Linked DNA regions of Homo sapiens: region 1 is linked to region 2. The links are contacts of gene promoters, found by promoter capture Hi-C in blood cells and fetal thymus (Javierre and others, 2016). All regions are on one chromosome and are shown on one strand. Each heading gives the region's core, a stretch centred on a gene start or on the middle of the fragment in contact. The rest is flanking DNA. Distances are from core to core; before and after follow the strand shown.

Region 1 (7,127 bases), core at 821-3,320, 2.0 Mb after region 2:
GATGCTCAGCAGACTTGAAAGTCCCTGTACCATGCGGACTTGCAGAACGAGTTTTTCTGCTAGGAGAGAGATTAGCTCAAAGGATAGCAAGGTCTGGGGAGAGGAGAGGGACAAGAATGATGAGAAATAGAATGAGAAGGAAAACCTCTAAAGCAAGGGGAAGATAGGGGCATCAGAGGGAGCTGAGTCAGCACCAAGACTGCCAGGAGCCGCCACTGTCCTCTGTCCAGATTCAATGACACTGCCCTGTGCCCGCAGACTCTCTGCCCAGTGCCTTTTCTCTCTGCTTTTGTATGGTCTGTGTGGGGAACTAATGCATGGAGAAGCGTGCACCATCTCATGATAATGATGGAGCAGCCAAAGCCTCATAGAGCATCCGATTGGAGCCATGGCTTCTTTGAGCCCAGCCAAAGGGATCCAGCCCCTACCTCCATATCACCTGTTAGAGGAGACAGTGCCCCCTAGCCCTTCTGTCTCTGGAGCCCCTGTCTCCTGGTGCAATTTCTCAGCTCAGTGACTAGCTAACCAGGCACTTGGACATTAAGGAAGCATGGTGATGAATAAGTGGGCCCTGCATGAGGCAGGCTTCTCAGGGTTTCTTGGCAGCACATGTATTAGCATTTGGACCAATCTGATTTTATTTTATTATTGTTATTTACATTTATGTATTTATTTTTAATGTTGTGGGTACACAGTAGGCATAAATATTTATGGGGTACCTGAGATATTTTGATATGGGCATACAATGTGTAATAATCACATCAGGGGCCGGGTACCGTGGCTCACACCTGTAATCCCAGCACTTTGGGAGGCCAAGGCAGATGGATCAGCTGAGGTTGGAGTTTGAGACCAGCCTGACCAACATGGCAAAACCCCGCCTCTACTAAAAATACAAAATTCACTGGGTGTGGTGGCGCAAGCCTGTAATCTCAACTACTCGGGAGGCTGAGGCAGGAGAATCCCTTGAACCCGGGAGGTGGAGGTTGTGGTGAGCCAAGATCACGCCATTGCACTCCAGCCTGAGCAACAAGAGCAAAACTCTGTCTCAAAAAAAAAAAAAAAAATCACATCAGGGTAAATAGTGCATCCATCACCTCAGGCATTTATCCTTTGTGTTACAAACAACTCGGTTACACTCTTTTAGTTATTTTAAAATGTACAATAAATTATTGTTGACTGTAGTCACCCTGTTGTGCTATCAAATATTAGATCTCATTCATTCTAGATGACTAATTTTTATACCCATTAACCATTCCCACTTCCCCGTCCCCTAGTACCCTTTTCAGCCTCTGGTAACCATCCTACTCTCCATTTCCATGGGTTCAGTTGTTTTAAGGCTTTTAGCTCCCACAAATCAGTGAGAACACGCAACATCTGTCTTTTTGTGCCTAGCTTATTTCACCTAACATAATGTCTTCCAGTTTTATCCATGTTATAGCAAATGACAGGCTCTCATTCTTTCTTTTTTTTATGGCTGAATAGTACTCCGTTGTGTATAGGTGCCACATTTTCTTTTGTATTTTCATTTTACTTTAAGTTCTGGGATACATGTGCAGAACGTGCAGGTTTGTTACATAGGTATATGTGCCATGGTGGTTTGCTGCACCCATCAACCTTCATCTAGGTTTTAAGCCCTGCATGCATTAGGTATTTGTTCTAATGCTATCCCTCCCCTTGCCCCCTACCCCTGACAGGCCCTGGTGTGTGATGTTCCCCTCTCTGTGTCCATGTGTTCTCATTGTTCAACTCCCACTTACGAGTGAGAATGTGTGGCATTTTGTTTTCTGTTCCTGTGTTACTTTGCTGAGAATTATGGCTTCCAGTTTAATCCATGTCCCTGCAAAGGACATGATCTCATTCTTTTTTATGGCTGCATAGTATTTCATGGTGTGTATGTGCCACATTTTCTTTATCCAGTCTATCATTGATGGGCATTTGGGTTGGTTCCAAGTCTTTGCTATTGTAAATTGTGCTGCAATAAACATATCTGTGCATGTGTCTTTATAGTAGAATGATTTATAATCCTTTGAGTATATACCCAGTAATGGGATTGCTGGGTCAAATGGTATTTCTGGTTCTAGATCCTTCAGGAATCACCACACTTTCTTCCATAATGGTTGAACTAATTTACACTCCCACCAACTCTTTATCCATTCGTCTGTTGATGGACACTTAGGTTGTTTCTGAATCTTGGCTATTGTGAATAGCGCTGCAATAAACATGGGAATGCAGACATCTCTTCGATATACTGATTTCCTTATTGGGGGTTATATACCTAGCAGTGCAATTGCTGGATTATGTGGTAGCTCTATTTTTAGTTTTTTGAGGAAGCTCTCTACTGTTCTTTGCAGTGGTTGTACTAATTTACATTCCCACCAACAGCGTATGAGGGTTCCCTTTTCTCCACATCCTCTCTGGCATTTGTTATTGTCTGTCTTTTGGAAAAAGCAATTTTTAGCTGGGATGAGCTGATATCTCATTGGAGTTTGGATTTGCATTTCTCTGATGTTCAGTGATGTCGAGCACCTTTTCATATCTCCATTTGCCATTTGTATGCCTGCTTTAGAAGAATGTCTATTCAGATCTTTTGCCCATTTTTAAACTGGACTATTAGTTTTTTTCCTATTGAGTTGTTTGTGCTCCTCATATACTCTGGCTGTTAATCCCTTTTTTCTTGCCTTATTTCTTAATTAAATATTAAACTAAATATTTAGTTTGCAAATATTTTCTCTCATTCTGTGGTTTGTCCAATGTAATTTTAAAGTCCTAAAAGAATTTAATTCACTGACTCTTCAGTATGTTATAACCTGAACTTCTTGGCTGATTTTATGGGCCTCAGTGTTAGACAGCACCTAAGGATGTGTCATGTTAAAGCCTCTTGGTTTAACCTGTCTTTGTTCTCACCTGCCATTGGCCACCTGCTCCACCCCAGCAGCTCCCACAGTGACCAGCTCCACACCGGCCATGGTGTGCAGACTTGCAGGGCTGCCTCTCCGTCCAGTTGGCTCGTGCTTACAGCCTCACACCTTGTTCCTCCACCTGGGGGCTTCCCTGTGGAAGGCTGAGGTGAGAAAAATTATGGGAGCCTCAATGAGCAACCTGGAAGTGTCTGGGAGTGAGGTCCCCGTGGGGCCAGCCTTTGAATGGGAGGCAGGAACTGGCAAATAAGAGTTCTCCCCAGCTGAACTCTCCTGTGTTCTGGTTAACACAGCCTCTTACAGGACAGTCCCCAGAGAGGGAGCAACCAGTCGTGCTTGATACCAAGCAAAGGTCGGCTTGGTGAGGCCTCCTGGTATGGGCTCTGCTGCCTTCCCTGACCTGCTTCATTCCGCTTTTTCCTCGCTCTGGCTGCCCTGGGATTGTACTCCTTAATGAAGAAGCAGTATCTAGGCCTTTGCCTTGGGGTCTGCTTTAAAGATTCCGGCTGGGATGGCTTCTAACCATTGTCATTCTTCTCCCCCAGGATGCTTTCCAATTTCTACACATCTGAAATGGATGCTACAGTCTCAAAAGGCAGCACTAATCATGGCCATGGGGGTAGTTAGCAGTAATACCAAGCCAGGGGAGTTCTTGAAGAGGAGATTTGAAAGATCATAACTTGGGCAGTGGAATTTCAGACGCAACTGGGCTGAACTGAGAAAGTAATCATAGCTAACATTTCCTGAGAGCTTACAATGCATTTTATTTGCACGTATTATCTCTTCTACTCTTTGCAACAAGCCTATTAGAGACACATTATTATTTTTGCCATGAAAGTAACTTGTCTAACATCAAAATTAGAAAGTGGTGCAGGTATGATTTGAACGCAGGCAGTCTGGCTCCAGTAAGCCCTTTATTGAGTCTTAAACACTTTACTCATGCAAGTCAGGTGACAGGAGCTGCAATGTCCACTATGAGCTGCCCACTCGGGGACACATCTGACTTTATACATGACTTGTGGTGATGGGTAAAGCCTGGTGCTTAGGAGAGTGGTCTCTGGAGCCAGGTTCACCAAGAGTTCGAACCCAGGCTCTGGTACTTCCTGGCTGCTGGAGCCTTGGCCAAGTAGCTTTGTCCTCCTGAAACTCTATTTCCTCTCCTGTAAAATGATCGATAACAATATTGTGTGGTATGGTGAGGATTAAAACATTTAGCAAGGTGCAGGCCACATAGTATGTACCCTGTCAGTTTTGTATGTTACTGTTACTATTGCATTAGTCCGTTTTCACATTGCTGATAAAGACATACCCAAGACTGGGTAATTTATAAAGAAAAAGAGATTTGATGGACTCACAGTTCCACGTGGCTGGGGAGGCCTCACCATCATGGTGGAAGGCAAAAGGCGCATCTTACGTGGTGGCCGACAGGAGAGAATGAGACGAGAGAAAGGGGAAACCCCTTATAAAACCATCGGATCTCATGAGACTTATTCACTACCATGAGAACAGAATAGAGGAAACCGCCCCCATGATTCAATTATCTCCCACCAGGTCCCTCCCACAACACATGGAAATTATGGGAGCTACCATTCAAGAGGAGATTTGGGTGGGAACACAGCCAAACCATATGAACTCTCATTATTATTATACTTCAGCAAAAGGCAAAGGTTAACGTAGGTGAGAGTTTAGGTCCCTTCTGGTCCTAAGATCTATGCACCTGAGGATTGAAGTGCTTCTCTCTCTCAAAGCCCCTATGCTACTTTCGGTCCCCACCATACAATTACATTTCCTCAAAATTCCTGCTCCGCTGTTCCTCAGCTTTCAACTCAGCCATTTCTCAATAAAGCTTTGAAAAAGTCAGAATTCTTTCTCTCTTTCTCTCTCTCCCTCCCCCAGTTTGGCCTCACCAAGTTCTAAAACATGCCCAGATCTGGCCCCTGCCTTGCACCCCAGCCTCGCTCCATGCTGCTCTGTCCTTTCTACCATGTCTCACCAGGCTCTTTCCCTCTCAGCCCTCCACCCCTGGGGTCCACTTTCGTCTCCTCTCCCCATGCTGAGGCCTCCCATTTTCTCTTAGCTTAGAGGCCAGCTCCAGAGCTGGCCCCCACCCCTCCCCTCTGTGCTCTGCCTCAGCACCTCATTTATCTCCTTCATGCACTTGGTACCATTTGTGACAATTTTGCCCTTTATTTCTGTCTCCCTCTCCACCATTTGTTTCTTGCAGTGCTTTTACATTGAGCTCTGGAATAAACAGATATCACTGATGGAGCATCTCCTATGTGCCAGACCCGGTGCTAAGATTTAACCCTGGAAAAACATCTTTATTCAACAAATACTTTTTTGAGCACATATGAGCTACACACTGGAAAGTCCCAATACTAAGGGCCTGGAGAGCCCAGAATAGGCAGGAGAACAGGCGATGCCCGTGGCGGGCTAGGTGGTTCGGTGGGGAGGGCACAGGGTGCTATAAGGTCTCATTCCCCTCATTTAACCAAAGAGGAAATTGGGACTTTGAGAAAGGAGGAGGCTTGTCAGGGGCAGTTCTCAAGCTGTGGCCCATGAACCTCGGGGGTCCCTGAGACCTTTTCAGGGATCCATGAGGGCCTCCCTTTCCCAACTACATGATTTGTATGAGGCTGGGGTTTTTCATACCTACAACTAGGCAACTAAACAGTGTATTTGGAGAGACTGAATGCAGAAGTAGACATGAGAATGTAACCTTCCATTAAGCCTGATATTAAAGAGATCAGTGAAAATGTAAAATGATGACAATCTTCTCAATTTATTTTTGTCTTAGAAAATATAGTTATTTTTAAAGTGTGATTTTTATTACCATGGAATGGAGTTTTATATTATTTTAAATGAATTAATAAATACATTTTAAAAATTCTGCTTTAATTTCTAATACAGCAAATATCGATAAATAACCCACATAAACAAAAGTTCTTTGGAGTCCTCAGTAATTTCCAGGAGTATAAAGAGGTCCTAAGGCAAAAAAAAAAAAAAAAATTACTAATTGGGAGACACAAGTGTCAGAATATACAGTAATTGTTCAGTAATATTGCTGTAAATTAATTAATAGGATTGCCTAGTCACAACAGCAAAGGCATGGAATCAACCCAGATGCCCATCAGTGGTGGATAGGATAAAGAAAATGTGGTCCATATACACCATGGAATACTATGCAGCCATAAAAAAGAACAAAATCATGTCCTTTGCAGCAACATGGATGCAGCTGGACATCATTATCCTAAGTGAATTAACACAGAAACAGAAAACCAACCACTCATGTTCCCACTTATGAGTGACAGCTAAACACTGGGTACTCGTGGACATAAAGGTGGGAACAATAAATGCTACGGATTCCAAAAACGGGGAAGGAGGCAGGGGAAAGGGGTTGAAAAATTACCTGTGGGGTACTATGTTCACTACTTGGGCAACGGGATCATTAGAAACCCAAACCTTAGCACCATGCAGTATATCCATGTAATAAACCGGCACACATACCCCCCGAATTTAAATTAAAAAAAAATTACATTAAAAGATAGGAGTACCTCCTTTACACCACCTGAATTATCATGGCACATAAATCTCACACCCTATTTGCCAAGGCCATTCGTTCCTAGCTGTTTTACAGGTAGGTTAGCTTTCTCAATGCAAGTCTGTGGGACGGATGGAGAAAAATTCCCCGAGCCCTTTGATCCTGCCCCAGCTGGGCCCCGCCGCGCTGAGCCTTGGGCGCGCCCCCTGCTGCCCGCGGCCGGAGCCGTTCGCCACACCCCCGTGTTTATGTCGGTCCACGGGGGTTGCCTGTCCCTTTAATTGGCATGTACCAAGTCCTTCCAGGTCACATTTCCTCCCTACGTCCCAGCCGTTTGGACTCACTGGCCAAAAGTCCAAGAGGACGGAATGTGGAGACAGTGTTGTATTTTTGCGGGGAGTTCTAGGCCGACCGGGAGCGAGAGAACGCTCGGGGGCGAAGCGCGCCATTGCGGCCCTCCCCGCCGCCTGCGGTAGTCCAGTCCCAAGATGGCGGCCACCATGAAGAAGGCGGTGAGTGGGGAGCTCGGGGCTCTGGATGCTCGGGCGGCGCCGGATCTCGGCCGCTGGGGCCCGGGCGCGGGATGCTGGGGGTGCGCAGCTCCGAAGCCCGGCGTGGGACCCGAGGCCGAGGCCGAGGCCCTGAGAGCGGTCCCGCGGCAAGGCCTG
Region 2 (6,840 bases), core at 2,097-4,596:
GCCTCCCAAGTAGCTGGGACTACAGGCACCCGCCACTACGCTCGACTAATTTTTTGTATTTTTAGTAGAGATGAGGTCTCACCTGTTAGCCAGGATGGTCTCGATCTCCTGACCTCGTGATCTGCCCGCCTCAGCCTCCCAAATCCCTCCCTGGGATTACAGGAGTGAGCCACCGCACCCGGCCGACATTATTTCTTGATACTAATCATATCAAGAATTAATACTATATTAATACCTGGAAAGCACTTAGTGTAGTATTTGGCACTGTATTAGAAGCTACTATATAAATACTTGTTCAATAAAGACATAGCGGGTAGATCATGAGGTCAGGAGAGCGAGACCATCCTGGCTAACATGGTGAAACCCCATCTCTACTAAAAATAAACAAAAAAAATTAGCCCGGCGTGGTGGCACACACCTGTAATCCCAGCTACTAGAGAGGCTGAGGCAAGAGAATTGCTTGAACCCGGAAGGCGCAGGTTGCAGTGAGCTGAGATTGTGCCACTGCACTCCAGCCTGGGCGACAGAGCGAGACTCCGTCTCACATAAAAAAAAAAAGATAACTCGTGTTTATAAGAAAATTTAGAAGAAACTTATAAAGAAGGGGAAAATCACTCAATATTTCCATCTCTGCCTACCATGAATATTATAAAATATTTTTTTCCATTCATTTTCTTTACACTTAAAAGTTGCGTAAGATGGCTCACGCCTGTAACCCAGCACTTTGGGAAGCCGAGATGGGTGGATCACAACAAGAGATCAAGACTATCCTGGCGAACATGGTGAAACCCCGTCTCTACTAAAAATACAAAAATTAGCTGGGTGTGGTGGCACGTGCCAGTAATCCCAGCTACTCAGAAGGCTGAGGCAGGAGAATTGCTTGAACCTGGGACGTGGAGGTTGCAGTGAGCCAAGATCATGCCACTGAACTTCCAGCCTGGTGACAGCGAGACTTCATCTCAAAAAAAAAAAAAATTGCATAAGATCATAATATTGTAAATATTCAGATCATAGTATTGTAAAACTAATCCTTTTCCTAATTTTTTTCCTTTTTTTTTTTGAGATGGAGTTTTGCTCTTGTTGCCCAGGCTGGAGTGCAAGGGCACGATCTCAGCTCACTGCAACCTCCGCCTCCTAGGTTCAAGCGATTCTCCTGCCTCAGCCTCCGGAGTATCTGGGATTACAAGCGCCACCACCACGCCAGGCTAATTTTGAATTTTTAGTAGAAATGGGGTTTCTTCATGTTGGTCAGGCTGGTCTTGAACTCCCGACCTCATGTGATCCGCCCGCCTCAGCCTCCCAAAGTGCTAGGATTACAGGCGTGAGCCACCGTGCCTGGCCCTTTTTCCTAAACATTGCATAAACATTGTGCTATATCATTAAAATCTCTTCATATATATATGATTATTTAATGGCAATACATTATTCCATGGTGTCCATGCGTCATAATCTTCTCAGCAACAATAAGGTATTTACATAATTTCCAATTTTTCCCAAGTTAAATGATACAAGACTACCTTTGTGCATATATGGTTAGATAAAATTATGCCTCATAATTTTCTGAAAATTTGTAAGATATTTACATTATGTCCAATTTTCCCCAGGTCTAGCTAAGACAAGAAATCTCTGTTCAGAAATACAGTTTGGTTGACTTGCTAAGGAGACTGGGCTGAGCACTGTGATAAGCCATCTTGCAGGGATACACTTAAGCACTTTGCAATCAATGGATGGAAGGAAGGAAACCTTTTCTTCTCTGGCAGATACTGAGATACCCATGGAACTAACAAGGAAACAAGGAAGTGAGACATGAAGTAGCTTGCATTGCTGACGATTCCTTAATGATGGAATAGGACTGACACCCAGAATGAAAGGATTTTCATAACAGATAATGTCACTGGTATGTGGAAAGTGCAAAAGTAACGACATAGACCTTCGTTAGAATCTTGACACTGTCGCTTAACAACAGTGACTTTAAGCGTGGGTTTTCTCATCTGAAAAATGGGAGGAGAGGTTTCTAATCCATGGTTTTTGTTTGTTTTTAATTTCTCCAAGAAAAAACACGGGCTTGTTATGAGAATTAAATGGGATGGTGCTCGTACCAGCACAGTCCCCCCTCCCCGCCAGTCCCCCAGCATGTTACCTGCTGGGTTCTTACTGAGGTACACTATTTAAACATGGACATATCTGAGCCCCACCTAGGAGATACTGAGTCATAACAGGGTGGGGTGGGGAGGATGGTGTTTAGGAAAATCTGTGCTTTTCACAGTAATGCAAGGAATACACCGCCAAGTTTGGGACCCAGTGTCTCCCAAACTGTTAACAGTAGCAGCTAACAAGCTGGGAGCTTACTATGTGCCAGATTTTCTGCAAACCCCTGGTAGATGGGTTCTCAAACTTCATGTGCTTCAGAGTTGCCCAGGCAGCTACGAAGGACAGCGGATCCCCAGCCCCACCCCCGAGATTGAATGGGTGGGGCCCAGAAAGCTGTTTTAAAATACACGCTCTCGCTCCCAGGTGGCTGGTTGCACTCAGTCTCTGGACCACACTTTGGGAAACAATGCACCGGGAGAAACCAGGGACTTGAAAAACGCTGATGTCCTCCTCGGTTAAATAAAAACTGAACCCCAAACCCAAATAAAGCGACCACGGCCCCGTTTTCCATTCAGATCTCCACCCTTAATGAGGAAAAGGCTTTGCAATGAGCCGGCAGGACCTCGTGAGACCTGGTGATTCCCCCAATCTCCAGGCTCTAATTTTGAGCCACTGAGGCAGAAGTTTTCCCATCAGTGTTGCCCCGTTTACCCTAGATTCCTCCCTTTCTCCTGCCCGCCCCAAACTCCGCCTGATGGGGCGGGAATGCCCTTAGGGGGTGGCGATTGTCTGAACGGCGTGCCCTCCCCCACTGTTCCCTTCCAAGGGGTCTCGCAAGGCTGGAGAGCGCCCCCGGTCTTGCGCCAGGTCGGGTGCGCCCCCACCCCAAGCCCACTCCGGCGCCCCCTGCACAGCGCGCCCGCCGCGGTCCCCGAGACGCGGCTCCGAGCCGTCACCCCGATTTCGGGGCCCCGGGCCTGCTGGCTGCGTCGCAGACGTGCTTGGGCCCGGGCCCCGGAGCGCGCACTGGGCCCCGGAGCGCGCACTGCTCCCGGAAAAGCACTTACTTTGCACCGAGCCCGCGAAGCTCTCGCCCTCGCTGCTCGCGTTCATGGCCGCAGACTGGGAGGTCCCCGGCCGGCCGGGATGCCAAAGTGGGGGACGCTGATCTACATGGTGCAAGGACTTTTCCTTTTATTTTTCCACACCCCCCACCCTGCCTTCTCCCAACTCTGCGAGGCGGGGAGGACGGATGTAAAGCAAGCTGCACTTCCGCTGCCTAGAGGGCGCTGGCCGGGCCCGGCGCCCCAACCTGGCTTTGCAGCAGCGGCTCCCCGGGGAAGCGGCGGGCGAATCCCGAGGCCCAGGCCCGCGGAGCCCCCCAACGCCCCCGGGGAGCTGGATGGCCACGCGCGTCCCGGCGTGCTGGGCGACCGCGGGTGGCGAGGGATGCGCCCCTGCCCGCACTCTGCGTTCTCCGCGGACGCGATTGGCCTCCCCGGCTCGGGGCGCCTTTTGCACCTGCAACCCCAGGCGTTGGGCCCCCAGCGCGGCCGTGCAGCAGCGCTGCTCCCGGGACGCCTGGGTGGTTTGCGGGGAGACCCACGTGCGGCTGCCGTTGCGGGGTGGGTGCGCGGGGCGCGGCGAGCTCCGGAGAAACCCAGGTTGGGCGTGAGCGCTGGGCAAATCAGCAAAGCGCTGGGCGGGTCCCTTGCCCCGCTAGGGAGACTGAGAGGACCGCGAAGAGGTGGGGTCGTAGCGCGGAGGGACCCCTGCTCCAGGAGCTGCCAACTTTATCGTGCATCGCAGTCGCCTGAAAGGCTTGTTAGAACACACGCTGTTGGGCCCACCCTAGCGTTTCTGCTTCAGTAGGTCTGGGGCGAGGCGTGAGAACGAGCATTTCTAAGTTCCCAGGTGATGCCCCTAGTGTTGGTCGGCGTCCACACTCTGAGGACAGTGACCTCTCTGCTCTGTCCCTCATGTCTTACTACTACTGTCTCCCCCGGGCTCCTGCGTCAGCCCTATTGTCTCTCTGCCGACCCTCCCAAGCCTCAGACCTCTCCCAGCCTCGAGGGATTTGCCCATAGAGTCTGTCCTGCTTCTGAAGGTCAGCATTCAAATTCACACTCAGGGAGGCCATGCTTGGCCTAATCTAATCATTCTAATATTGCAGCCCCCTCCTCCTCCCCCAACCACTCCCTGTCTCCTTCCTGTTTTTTTCTTTTTCTTTTTCTTTTCTTTTCTTTTCTTTTCTTTTCTTTTCTTTTCTTTTCTTTTCTTTTCTTTTCTTTTCTTTCTTTCTCTCTCTCTGCCTCTCTCTCTTTCTCCCTTTCTTTTTTTAGAGAGGGGGTCTTTCTCTGTCTCTCAGGCTGGAAGAGTGGTCGGATCCTAGCTCATTGCAGCCTCCAACTCCTGGGCTCAAGCAATCCCCCCTACAGGCGTGGGCCACCACCCTGGCTCACTTTTTAATTTTTATTTTTGTAGAGATGTTGCCCAGGCTGGTCTCGAATTCCTGGCCTCAAGCGATCCTCCATCAGCCTCCCAAAGTGCTGGGGTTACAGGTGTAAGCCACCATGCCTGGCCTGCTTTGTCCTTAAAAGGTGTTAGATGGAACATATTATGTATCTCGAGTATATCTGCTTAGATATAATTTAGTTGTATATTATCTGTGTTCTCCTCCCCCTTATTTTCAGTAAGTCCCTGTAAAAATGGGGATTAAAAAAATCTCTTTGCTTCACTGATGTAGTCCAGTGACTTGGCTGGTGCCTGACACATAGTAGGCTTAGTAAATATGGCTTGTATAATGAATGGGATTTTCCCTGCTGCTGCCTCTAAGGCTTGGTTTCTGCCTGCAGCAGCTGTTTATTCTCAAGTGTTTGTGAAGTGCCAGGCACTGGGCTAGCTGCTGGAGGTAGACCAGGGAGGCAGTCAACATGAAATAATCAAATCAGTACTGTAAATATATATATATTTAATATATAATATTTAATATATTTAATATATATTTATATTTATGTATATATATATTATATATAAATATATACAATATATATTATATATAAAATATTATATATTATATATTATATATTTATATATATAAAAAATATATATAAAACTTCCTTTTTTTTTTTTAACCTTAAGTTCTGGGATACATGTGCAGAACGTGCAGGTTTGTTACATAAGTATACATGTGCCATGGTGGTTTGCTGCACCTATCAACCCATCACCTAGGTTTTAAGCCCCACATGCATTAGGCATTTGTCCTAATGCTCTCCCTCCCGTTGCCCCCCACCCCCTGACAGGCCCTGGTGTGTGATGTTCCCCTCCTGTGTCCATGTGTTCTCAACATTTTGCTAGTGATAAGGGCTCCAAAGACCATAAAATGGGGCTGTAATAGTGGCTGTAGAACTGGTCATAGCAGGCCTTTCCGAGCAGGTAATATCTGAACAAGGAGCCGGGGAGGATGCAGCCATGTGAGGATGAGGGGGGAGCAATTCCAGCCTGAGGAACTGGTGGGAGCAAAAACCCTGGGGCAGGAATGAGCTAGATGTAACTGGCTGTGGCCTGCCAGTCCCACTGCAGATCACACCACTCTCACCCTGCATTGCCCAGGCAGCTCCACCAGGCTCCTTGCTGTTGTTGCTCCTCCCTCTGCCTGGATTGCTTTCCTGGTCTTTGCAGGACTGGCTATTTTAGGTCATCCAGCATCAAATGAAATGTCGCCTTCCCAGAGAGACCTTTCCTATGTCTTACCTAAAGTATTCACTCTCCCTGCGACTCTGCGACATCACCTTCATGATACCTGTCTAGCTAACATGACCCAGCAGAGCACCGCAGCTTACGGCAATATTTATTTTTTATTGCTTGATGAATGTTTACATATGTGCACACCTGGGAAGTCCCCTTCCAAGACACACATTTCCAGCCCTGGTCGGCTCCCTCATGCACCTTCCCAGCCAATAATACTATTCTGGCCAGGCAAGGTGGTTCATGTCTGTAATCCCAGCACTTTGGGAGGCCGAGGTGGGCGGATCACCTGAGGTCAGGAGTTCTAGACCAGCCTGGCCAATATAGTGAAACCCCATTTTCTTCAGTACAAAAATTAGCCAGGCTTGGTGGCGCACACCTGTAATCCCAGATACTCCAGAGGCTGAAGCAGGAAAATTGTTTGAACCCAGGAGGCGGAGGTTGCAATGAGCTGAGATGGAGCCACTGCACTCCAGCCTGGGTGATGGAGCGAGACTGTCTCAAAAAACTATAAATAAATAAAATAATACTATTCCTACTATCCAATCTTGCAGAGGTCACCATTCTAACTTTTATTGTCACGATTCCTTTTGTTGAGAGCAATATATCTCACATTTGCCTGAAGAGAAGCATCATCTGGAAGGCTCACTAAAGAATGAGTTCTTGGGTTCCAAGCTATGCTTACTGCATCAGAATTTTCTGGGGTAAGACTTGGTAATCTGCAAATATCTCAAAAGTGCCCCAGGTAATTCTTATCATGATGTAAGTCTGGGCCTTACTGGTTTGGTGGTTAAGTGTGTAGGCCCTGGAGTTAGGCTATGCCACTGCCATGCAAATCCTGGAGTTGCTGAACTAGGATTAGTTGCTTAACCTTGAATAGGAAATTCAACTGCTCTGTGTCCCGGTTTTCTGTAGCTTGGAGATAATAGTAGCACCTAGTTCATTAAGCTGTTTTGTAGGAGGAACCAATCAATATCTGTAAAGTGCTTAGAATAGTGCCTG

Evidence for each region. The method cuts DNA at HindIII sites, captures the fragments that hold promoters and counts their contacts. A CHiCAGO score of 5 or more calls a contact.
Region 1: a contact is called between a fragment that was not itself captured here and the fragment with the promoter of ZFP64 in region 2, in 1 of 17 cell types (naive B cells). The highest score is 5.3, in naive B cells.

What each region holds. Positions count from the first base shown.
Region 1 is chr20:54,201,154-54,208,280 of GRCh38, forward strand. It overlaps PFDN4 (prefoldin subunit 4), which reads left to right and starts at 6,934. Exons shown (of 4, transcript NM_002623.4): 1 at 6,934-6,971. The coding sequence starts at 6,948. It overlaps LOC124904937 (a long non-coding RNA gene), which reads right to left and starts at 6,888. Exons shown (of 2, transcript XR_007067669.1): 1 at 6,804-6,888; 2 at 5,793-5,903. RefSeq lists enhancers at 4,254-4,483, 6,331-7,127, 6,689-7,008 and a silencer at 6,999-7,127. The HindIII fragment of the contact is 5,383 bases long and covers 1-4,762 here.
Region 2 is chr20:52,188,433-52,195,272 of GRCh38, forward strand. It overlaps ZFP64 (ZFP64 zinc finger protein), which reads right to left and starts at 3,347. Exons shown (of 6, transcript NM_018197.3): 1 at 3,159-3,347. The coding sequence starts at 3,204. RefSeq lists enhancers at 2,202-3,058, 4,099-4,228 and silencers at 2,819-3,058, 3,419-3,688. The HindIII fragment of the contact is 28,170 bases long and covers 1-6,840 here.